2 separate regions of the Homo sapiens genome follow, and region 2 is linked to region 1. Evidence: promoter capture Hi-C in human tissues and cell types (Jung and others, 2019). All regions are on one chromosome and are shown on one strand. The core of a region is centred on a gene start or on the middle of the fragment in contact, and the rest is flanking DNA. Distances in the headings are between cores, read along the strand shown. Region 1 holds the start of POLR3A (RNA polymerase III subunit A). Region 2 overlaps DLG5 (discs large MAGUK scaffold protein 5).

Region 1 (5,543 bases), core at 1,293-3,792:
CAGGCTGAGGATACAGATTAGCTAAGACAGACAAGGTCCTTGCCAACAAAGAGCTCACAGGTCAGGGTGGGAAAGACAGACCACAAACAAACGAATATACAAATGTGAACAGATGCAGAAGTGATGTAAGCAGTGGAGTCTGAGGAATTACTTTACGTTGCATGGTCAGAAAGCCTCACTGTAAAACTGACAATCAGAAGGAAGAGCATCTGAAGTGGAGAGAATGACTAGGGCCAGGGTCCTGGGACTGGCACAAGCTTGGCATTTTCAAGGAACCAAATGAAATCAGTATATACTGGAGCATAGAAAGCTAATAGTACAAGATAAAGTCAGTGAAGCATGCAGGAGCTAAAGCATGAGGGCTTGGGAACTTTGGTAGGGAATTTATTTAAATAACATAAATGCAGCCGGGTGCGGTGGCTCATGCCTGTAATCCCAGCACTTTGGGAGGCCAAGGTGGGTGGATCACGAGGCAAGGAGATTGAGACCATCCTGGCTAACATGGTGAAACCCTGTCTCTACTAAAAATACAAAAAATTTGCTAGGCGTGATGGCCCACACAATGGAAAGCTGCTAGAGGATTTTTTTTTTTCCCTGAGACAGAGTCTTGCTCTGTCACCCAGGCTGGAGTGCAGTGGTGCGATCTCAGCTCACTGCAACCTCTGCCTCCTGGGTTCAAGCGATTCTCCTGCCTCAGACTCCCAAGTAGCTGGGGTTACAGGCATACAGGCATGCGCCACCGCACCCAGCTAATTTTTGTATTTTTAGTAGAGATGAGGTTTTACCATATTGGCCAGTCTGGTCTTGAACTTCTGACCTCATGATCTGCCTGCCATGGCCTCCCAAAGTGCTGGGATTACAGACGTGAGCCACCACTCCTGGCCTCTGCTAGAGGATTTTAATTGACAATACCCTTAATTTGCACTTTGACAGAAGCACTTTCTCTGTTTTGTGAGAATGTATTATATCTGACTGGGCGCAGGTGTACAGGTGGGTGTGAAGGGCCAGTGTCGATGTAGAGCTACCACATGGGAGAATGCTGCATTCACCTAGGTAAGACACCTGTTCTAGTGAATGGCAACCATCCACACAGCTGCCCAAGCAAGGCATTCTGTATATCCGTCTCAAGGTCTCTCGACCTCTAATTCTTTCCACCATGAATCAAGAGATTTTCCAGAAGGAGAACTCTTATCAAGATACTCTCCTGTTGAAAATCCTTCAAAGGTTCCTCACTGCCTACAAGATGACTTCTTAACACAGCTTCAAGTCTTCTGCTTCCTTCTGATCACCTGTGTTCTCTCCCTCAGGTCTGCTCCTTGAAAAAAGCAGTTTGGTCTGCTTTCTTTTGCCTGGACCCATTATGTGCTCTCAAAACCCCCTGGACCTACCCTTGTCATTGCACTTGTCGTACCCAGTGTTGACTTGTGTACCTTCTCCAACTAGATTAGGCAGTAAAAGTTTTATTCAGACCGTATCTTTAACGTCCAACACTGGGAATAACGCGCAGTATCCTCCTCAGTGTCTGCTGTAAGAATGATGAATTCACTTTTTTTTTTGAGACACCGTCTCACTCTGTCACTCAGGGTGGAATGCAGGAGGTTGCCCACTGCAACCTCTGCCTCCCAGGCTCAAGTGATTTTTCGGCCTCAGCCTCCCGAGTAGCTGGGACCACAAGGGCGCGCCACCACGCCTGCTAATTTTTGTATTTTTGATAGAGACGGGGTTTCGCCACGTTGCCCAGGCTAGTCTCAAACTCCTGAGCTCAGGAGATTCACCCGCTTCGGCCTCCTAAAGTGCTGGGATTACAGGAGTAAGCCACCGCGCCCGGCTGGATTCACTTTCTTACCGAGAACTCTAAGAAGGAGCCACCGCCTAATAACGTATTTCTGAAGGCAAAAGTCCGGATAGCAGCTTTATTTCTGACACTGCCATCCGTCGGCCTGTGGTACAGCTTTCTAGTGGGCAACCCCATCCTTTTGGTAAGCAACTACTGCCTCCGTGTCAGACGCTCTGCGGCTGACAGAATTAGAGACAGTCCCCGCCCCAGATTGCTCCCCTCGCTGCAGCAGGGGATAGTTCGCTGAAGAACAGGGATCATTGTATGACTTCAGGAGAATGCGAGCTTTGGCCCAGGGTGCACAAATCATTAAGGCTCAGGCCACTCCGACTTCTCCGCCCAAGTCCAGGGACCTCTCGAGGTGCTGAAATCCCCTCAGCCTGACCAATGCTCTTTGACCAACGCTGGTAGTTCTGGGCGCTGGTCACACCTATGGACTACTGGCCCTCCCCTTCCCATTGCACCCCATCTCTGACCCTGCAAGACCCGGGACCGCTGACCTCGGACCCCTTGCCCTATTTCTCAGCCCTTTGGCCACTCTTACTCCGTCTTACATTTTCTTGGCCACATCCGTCTCCCGGAACTGCTCCTTCACCATGATGACCGCTGCCGGGACGCCTCCTTGGCACTCGGGAGGCCAGATTAGAGAAACGATGCCCCCAGCACCTCCTGGGGCTGCTTCTGGACTCGCCGCTAACACATCTGCGGCATCCTCTCGGCCACCGTAGAGTGTCCCACGTGTCCGCTTCCTCTTCCGCTACTCGCCCGCGCGTCTGTCTGTCAAGAGAGACTTCCGGCATGCCTTTTTTTTTTTTTTTTTTCCCTTTCCCCGCACCGTCACCTGGTGGCGCTTACTGGAAGCCGCACCGAGGCGTGTGCTGTATTTTAAAAATCCCATTTCTGGTCAATTTCTCCACGTAATCAGACACCCGCAGAGAAACTGCATATAACTCTTTGCCTCAAGGCTTTTAGACAAGCAGAGGGCCAAAACTTGCATAAAATGGAAAATCATCATCATTAACATCAGTACCATCTAAATTAAGAGCTTCTAATTGTTTTAAGGGAAGGTGGAAGCTAAAATGAACCGGCCCATCCAACAGAGGGCACTATCTGTGGAGGACCAACAAAGGAAAACAGAGCGGAAAATATGGGCGCACATGTGCCTCCAGTTCATGAAGTTATTTGGAGGGAGGGGGGAAGAATTAAACTTACATTATTGATTACAAAAACAGTTGAAAATCTGTTAGAGTGAAAACAGCCATGGTAATCTACAGAAGAAAAGGGAGAATGGAAAGTAAAGATCATTCATGTCTTGAAATAAGTTGTCTACAGTCTGTGAGAACTTGTGGGAGGTGATCCTAGTGTGATATATTAGTGCATGAGCCTAGCAAGGAAATCACATCACCACAGGGCTTAGCGCTTAGAATTAGAACTAAGTCCTCATTATTTGTGAGAAACTCAAAACAGAACTTAACAAAAGTGTTTAACAACTTTCAATTTTTAAGAAGGGACGCTATCTCATTTTCAGACGCCATGGATCCTCACTAGCAAAACACAATGTCACAGACAAACGAGGCATATCAGGTTTTTCTAACTCATTTCGGTACTCCATCACTTAATCATGAAATAATGTTGACTATATATATATATATATATATATATATATAGTCAACATTATGGGTTTTTTTTGTTTTTTTTTTTTTTTTTTTTTTGAGACGGAGTCTCGCTCTGTCGCCTAGACTGGAGTGCAGTGGCGAAATCTCGGCTCACCGCAACCTCCGCCTCCCGGGTTCAAGCGATTCTCCTGGCTCAGCCTCCCGAGTAGCTGGGACTACAAGCGCCCGCCACCACGCCCAGCTAATTTTTGTATTTTTAGTAGAGACGGGGTTTTACTATGTTGGCCAGGCTGGTCTCGAATCCCTGACCTCGTGATCCGCCCGCCTCAGTCTCCCAAAGTGATAGGATTACAGGTGTGAGCCACCACACCCGGCTCTGATGTTTACAATATTATACCAACAAGGGTTGGATCGTGTGTGACTTATCTAGAGGTTAAGAGCAAAAGTTATGAAATCACAGTGCCATCATGGGAGTCTAGCTTTCACCATTTAAAGTTGTGTAGGCAGCCAGGCGTGGTGGCTCACGCCTGTAATCCTAGCACTTTGGGAGGCCAAGGTGGGCGGATCACCTGAGGTCAGGAGTTCGGGACCAGCCTGGTCAACATGGTGAAACCCCATCTCTACTAAAAATACAAAAATTAGCTGGGGTTGGTGGTGTGCGCCTGTAATCCCAGGTACTCGGGAGGCTGAGGCAGGAGAATCGCTTGAAGCTGGGAGGTGGAGGTTGCAGTGAGCCGAGACCATGCCATTGCACTGCAGCCTGGGCGACAAGAGTGAAACTCCATCTCAAAAATAAAAAAAAATAAAAAATAAAGTTGTGCAGGCCGGGCGCGGTGGCTCACGCCTGTAATCTCAGCACTTTGGGAGGCCGAGGTGGGCAGATCATGAGGTCAGGAATTTGAGACCAGCCTGACCAATATGGTGAAACTCCGTCTCTACTAAAAAATACAAAAATTAGCCTGGTGTGGTGGCGCATTCCTGTAATTCCAGCAACTCAGGAGGCTAAGGCAGGAGAATCGCTTAAATCCGGGAGGCGGAGGTTGCAGTGAGCCAAGATTGTGCCACTGCACTCCAGCCTGGGCAACAGAGCAAGACTCTGCCTCAAAAAAAAAAAAAAAAAAAATATATATATATATATATATAGATATAGATATAGATATATGTGTATATATACACATACGTGTATATATACACGTATATAAAGTGTGAACTTGGGAAAGTTATTTAATCTTATTGTGTGTTAGTTTCCCCATTTATAACATGGGTGAGTAATATGTATCCTATTTCTTAGAGTCAATGGGAAGGTTAAATAGCAAAATGAAGGTAAAAGTAATTAGAATGTAACAGGCACATTACAATCACTCAATAAATATTCTTCTGCCTCAGCCTCCCGAGTAGCTGGGACTACAGGTGCGCACCACCATGCCTGGCTAATTTTTGTATTTTTAGTAGAGACGGGGTTTCACCATATTGGCTAGGCTGGTCTTGAACTCCTGACCTCGTGATCTGCCTGCCTCGGCCTTCCAGAGTGCTGGGATTACAGGCATGAGCCACCGTGCCCAGCCGGCTGACTATTTTCTTAAGAATAAGGATAGTTGGTCACCTCGGGAGGCTGAGGCAGAAGAATCGCTTGAACTTGGGAGGCGGATGTTGCAGTGACCCGAGATCCCGCCACTGCACTCCAGCCTGGGTGACAGAGCGAGATGCGGTCTCAAAAAAAAAAAAAAAAACAAAAAACGAAAAAAAAGAAAAATAGTCGGCCGGGGACGGTGGCTCACGCCTATAATCCCAGCACTTTGAGAGGCCGAGGCGGGGGCGGATCACTTGCGGTCAGGAGTTGGAGACCAGCCTGGCCAACATGGTGAAACCCCGTCTCTCCTAAAAATACAAAAATTAGCTGGGCATTGTGGCGCAGGCCTGTAATTTTAGTTACTCTGGAAGCTGAGCCAGGAGAATCGCTTGAATCCGGGAGGTCGAGGTTGCAGTGAGCCGCGATGAAGCCATTGCTCTCCAACCTGGGTGACAAGAGCTAGACTCTGTCTCAGGAAAAAAAAAAAAAGAAAATAGGAAAGCTGCCCGCAAAGCCTGCA
Region 2 (5,543 bases), core at 1,309-3,808, 180 kb before region 1:
TTGTCTATCTGAGGGTGAGACTGATGACAAGGCGGTTGGGGGGAGGGGGTTACCCTAAAGCTTTTGAGAGTCTTGAGGTCCAATTCTCCAGGCCCTGCAGTCACACTGGGCTGATTCATTTAGATTCACTCAGTCACAACTATTTACTAAGTATTGTGCAGAACAGTTAACACAGCTGACCTGAGACTTCTATATCCTTAGAAAGGCCTGCTTGCAAGGTTGACCCTACCGAATGGCGTCTAGGAACCCGAACAGTAAACAGTTCTCTAGGCTGATGTAAAACTTTTCTTCTGGTGATATAAGCAGCTCTGGTACTGAGCCTGTACAAATAAAGTGGCTTATGCTGAACACCTGCTTTCTACTGGGAGTCCAGAATCTGGGTACATGGCAGGCAGAAGTTCCTACATGACCAGCCCCCAATAAGACACTTGAGCACTGAGTCTCTAATGGGCCTCCGTGGAGGCCAGCACTTCTTGTGTGTTGTTGTGATTCCATGCTGGAGGAATTAAGTGCCTCCGGTGAAACTCCACCAGGAGAGGATTCTTGGAAACTCAGGCCCAGTTTCCCCTGGACTTTGCCTCACGCGCCTTTCCCCCTTTGCCGACTTTGCTCTGTGTACTTTTGTTGTAATAAATGTCAGCCATTGAGTATAATTACATACTGAATCTTTTGAGTCCTCCCAGAAAGTGACATAGCCCAGAATCAGGTTATGTAAATCGGACCTAAAGACTCTCAAAAGCCCTAGGGTGACCCTCCATGGTGTAGGGTCCCCCCGCATCCCATGCAAGTACCTAATATGTCTAGCACTGGTCTAGGGGCTGGTGATGCCAGACAGGACAGAAAGACGCTGTGCCCTGTGGGCCTTTTATCCTAATTTGGAGGGTGTGGACACACAGATAGGCCAAATAAAGTAACTTCAGAGCAAGGTAAGAACTATCAAGAAAATAAAAAATAAAACAGAATAATGGGCTGGAGAGAGCCATCTGAGCAGCAGAGTGGAGGTCTGTGAGGGAGGCTAAGGCTGAAGAGGCTTCTTGAAGAAGGCGACTTCAGAGGCAAATGAAGAAGAGCAGCGAGAGCACACTGGGCAGAGAGGGGGGCAGGGTCAAAGGCCCAGAGGCAGGGCCTGCAGGCGTGTTCTAGAGACAGAGAGGGGCAAGGCGGAGTAGCAAGAGCCCAATGCACAGGGGGAGGTGGGTTCAAAGGGGACCTGGAGAAGTGGGTGTGGGCATGGGGGTGGCCATGGCCGCAGGCCTCACAGTGAAGACTGTCTCCTGAGTGAGACAGGAAGCTGTGGAGGGTTTTAAGCTAGACAGCATTCTACTCTAAATGACAGGCACTAAAGTTCATTTGGGGTGCTGTTATAGAGAAAAAAACAAACCAAGAAGATGAGTTAAGAGGTTGCCAGGGGGGCTGCTGGCTTTGGCTAAGCACCTCATGGGATCTGAGCCCTGGGGTGAGTCACTCCACCTCTCTGGGTTTCAGCTTCCGGATTCCTCAAATGCCCAGGCTAGACCAGGAAAGCTTGTCTGGCCCTTCCAGCTCCAACAGCCGAGGAATCACCTGGCTCATTCAGTGGCAGCCTGGTTTATCAAGCGTTTGCAGCCTAGAGAACCAGAAGCTGGGACGATGGAACACTCCCTTTGGAATTAGGGTCAGCTCTCAATAAACACGAAAAACACAAAAAGCAAAAGAGGGCTTAATTTAAAAGTCAGAATCATAGCAACAAGAAAGTAAGGTCTTCCTCTAAGACCTAAGCATTAGATTCTAGGACTGTAGACTCTTAAAGAGGAAGTCAAGGAAGAGGGAGAAATGGAGGGAAGGAGGGAAGAAGGGAAGGAAGGAAGGAAGGGGAGGAGAAAGAGAAAGAGAGAGAAAGAAAGGGAAAGGAGGGAGGGAGAGAGGGAGGGAGGATTGGTTCATTTCAGGCTCATTCTTTTTCCTTTATTTATTTTTAAAGCAGAACATTTTCTTTCAAGGGAAATCTTACTAGTACACCAAAAATACAGAACTTATTTTAAAAAGCAGTACACAGGTATCTCAGGCAGTCAAAATCTTCACTGTTTTGTAAAATGGCATCACTGTTGCAAAACAGGAATGCACACTGAGAAACAGAACCTCACTGACAGTGCCCACTCTACATCTAAAATCTTTCTTTAAAAAAAAAAAAAAAAAAAAAAAGCCCTGGCCAGGCACAGTGGCACATGCCTGTAATCCCAGCACTTTGGGAAGCCGAGGTAGGCGGATCACCTGAGGTCAGGAGTTTGAGACCAGCCTGACCAACATGGTGAAACCTTGTCTCTACTAAACATACAAAAATTAGCTGGGCGTGGTGGCGGGCACCTGTAATCCCAGCTACTCGGGAGGCTGAGGCAGGAGAATTGCTTGAACCCAGGATGCGGAGGTGGCAGTGAGCCGAGATCACGCCATGGCACTCCAGCCTGGGTGACAAGCGCGAGACTTCGTCTCAAAAAAAAGACGAAGAATGGGCTCACCATGACTATACTGGGTCAGTGAAGGACAGTCCTGACATCTGGTCAACCAACGCCTTCTACCCACATCTGGAAAGGTCCAGCATCTAAACTGGATTGCCCTGATTGGTGAGCAATACCTCAAAAATGCCAATTAAAAATTACTTCAGGCCGGGCGCAGTGGCTCACGCCTGTAATCCCAGCACTTTGGGAGGCCGAGGTGAGCAGATCACAAGATTGGAAGTTCCAGACCAGCCTGGCTAACATGGTGAAACCCTGTCTCTACTAAAAATACAAAAATTAGCCGGGTGTGGTGGCAGGCACCTGGAATCCCTGCTACTCCGGAGGCTGAGGCAGGAGAATTACTTGAACCCAGGAGGCGTAGGTTGCAGTGAGCCAAGACTGTGCCACTGCACCCCAGCCTTGGCGACAGAGAAATATTCTGTCTCAAAAAAAAAAATTACCTCAAATGTTTTACTGTCTAAACATCCCCTAAGCCAAGTGAGAACCCCATTGGCTCCAAATGAGTCTGCTTTGCTGGGGAACAAAGGAGGCTGTCATTGCCTGAGTTCCCCACAAGGTGGCAGCCGCGGGGAGACGAGCCAACGCTCTCCTGCAGCGGCTTCCCGCCTTCCCAGCTCAGAAACAAACTCATTCCAAAGGCAGCCTTGAAATGACACAAAGCCCGGTTCTGGGTGGTAGCCCGCAGAGCCCACCTCCACAAGTGCTCGGCAGAATCAGGAGTCTATACCATGGTTTGGCCTCTTTGCAGTCCCCTGAATGGCTAACCTTGAGGGGCCTGGATCCGGGCCTGTGTGACAATCCAGGGATGATTCAGGGCCGTGTGAATCAGGCTGCCAGCAAGGGCCGTGAGAGTGGGCCACGAATTCCCAGTGCGACAGGGTGGGTCACAGACCTCGAGGTCCTTTCAGCTGCTCCCCCCAGCCTTCATAACATGGTAGGATCCTCGGGTCAGAAGACCGAGAGAGAGAGATCAGGCCCCGTACTGCTTGCTTCCACCACGATGACGGCCACCCTCGGCCTGCTCCACAAGTGAAAGCTCCTTGGGATAGGGTCGTGCTCACCGGGAGCTACTCCGCCTCCCTGCAACTCCTAACCTCTGGTTCTCACTCTAGCCTTGGAGTCAAACAGAATAACCTGTTCCCACAGGGCAGCATCCAGATACTCAAAGAGGCTCGCAGGCCCCAAACACTTCTCACCCTTTCTCTACAAACAGGACTCAGTGCCAGGCCTGTACTATGTAACCAACAGCCTCTGAACAAAGCTGGGGAACCAGGTCATGGTTAACTCCGGAGAATCCAAAAAACTAAATCTATTGGTCTAGAATTTTTCCCTCTCGCCATCAGAGGATTATGTTCTTGGTAGGTATTTCCACATGCACATGCACACACGAGTGCGCACACACACACACACACCTAACTACAGTCAAATGTTTAGCTTCCCAGCAAAAGCTAATGAAGAGAGAATATTTAAATTTGGCCCAGAATTCTAAAATTAAAGTGATCACAGTTCACTGCAACCTCAACCTCCCAGGCTCAAGTGATCCTCCTGCCTCCGCCTCCCAAGTAGCTGGGACCACAGACACGCCCCACCACACCTGGCTGATTTTTTATTTTTTGTAGAGATGGGGGTCTCACTATGTTGCCCAGGCTGGTCTTGAACTCCTAGACTCAAGTGATACACCCACTTTGGCTTCCCAAAGTGCTAAGATTACAGGCGTGAGCCCTGAGCCTGGCCTGAGAGTCAACTTTTCCACTCAGGCAGGCAGCAGTCTTTAGAGATGATGTCCCTCCAGCCTGAGCACGGGACAGTTGGCCTGTGAGTTCAAGGGGCTTAGGAGAAATGGGTGGAAGTTGCACAGGGGAGGCACAAAGACAGCCACAGTCTAAGCTGTTCCCTGCAGGGAGGCCAGGAAGAGACCAACCCTCCTACCTGTACCCTACATTGGTCAGAACACTCCTCTGTGGGCTTCTCTGTAAGGGATGCCCTTCAGCAACCAGGAAACCCCTCTCCTCTCTTCCTTCCTCCAGGCCCATCAAAGGGCATTCATTCAGGATACCTGGGACAAGAAAATCAACTTTCATGAATTACAAGAGAAAGTATATTTTAAAGACAGGGGAAAGGGCAAGGAGGAGGAGAGAGAAGACTCTCGGGGCCTGAGAGGTTTCCCAAATAGATTAGCAGGACCTAGGAGAACATGTGCACTGCCCTGGTCCCAGGAATTCTACCTGTAAGGCTCAAACTTCAAAACATGTGTGCAAAAGAACACAAAGACATGTGTGTCCACTGAAACATGGTTTGTAACATGGGAAGATGTTGACCACCAAGACGCTCCACACAGAATTCGATTAACACCTGACAGACAACAAAACAAGCAAGGACCTTTTTGTATGTGCAAATTCACAGAAAATGTAAGGAAACCCATGATATATTGTAGGATTTTTTTTTAAAGCAGGTTTCAGGGAATAAAAATTAAACTATATGGGTATTAAATGTGACATTAAAAAAAAAATCTACAAGGATACACATCCATCCCAATGGTTTACACAGAGGATGGTCATTTCCACAAAGCTAGGCTGGATCTGAGTAGGTGGGTGGCTGCCCACATTGGTTGAAGATTTTTTTTCTATTTTAACTAAAGAATACACACTATTTTAGTAAAGAAAAAAGATGCAAAAACACCCTCTACTTAGATTCCCCAACCAAGCCTTGTCAGGGTCTTCTGGGCATTCTTGACACAGCCTAGAAGAATCCAAGAAGGTGCACTCGGACTGCCCAAACCCAGAGATGGGGATGCCAGGCAGAGGCCCTCCCCAGCAAAACACACATATGGACAAAACACCTGTGTGCTGCTCTCAACCATGGCGCCCCCTCCCCTAGGGCTGCCTCATTTCCTCTGAGATAAATCATGCAGAGGGCCGGGAAGCCCCACAAATCCCTCAAGCAAACACTCAAGTCAAACAGCACCATTTACCCTGCAAGGGCCTCTTCAAGTTTACAAGGCGTGGGAGGAACCCGGCAACAAAACTGCCCTTGTCCAGAGAGGTTGAC

What was found. Contacts are between HindIII fragments. The study calls those that stand out against the background at their distance.
Region 2: a fragment that was not itself captured here is called in contact with the fragment with the promoter of POLR3A in region 1 in 4 of the 25 tissues and cell types used here (H1 embryonic stem cells, adrenal gland, dorsolateral prefrontal cortex and 1 more).

What each region holds. Positions count from the first base shown.
Region 1 is chr10:78,026,973-78,032,515 of GRCh38, forward strand. POLR3A (RNA polymerase III subunit A) reads right to left here and starts at 2,543. Exons shown (of 31, transcript NM_007055.4): 1 at 2,392-2,543. The coding sequence starts at 2,435. RefSeq lists an enhancer at 2,463-2,712. The HindIII fragment of the contact is 17,222 bases long and covers 1-5,543 here.
Region 2 is chr10:77,843,777-77,849,319 of GRCh38, forward strand. All of the region lies in intron 5 of DLG5 (discs large MAGUK scaffold protein 5), which reads right to left. Among named protein-coding and RNA genes, the nearest start is that of DLG5, 80 kb to the right of the region's middle. The HindIII fragment of the contact is 9,044 bases long and covers 1-5,543 here.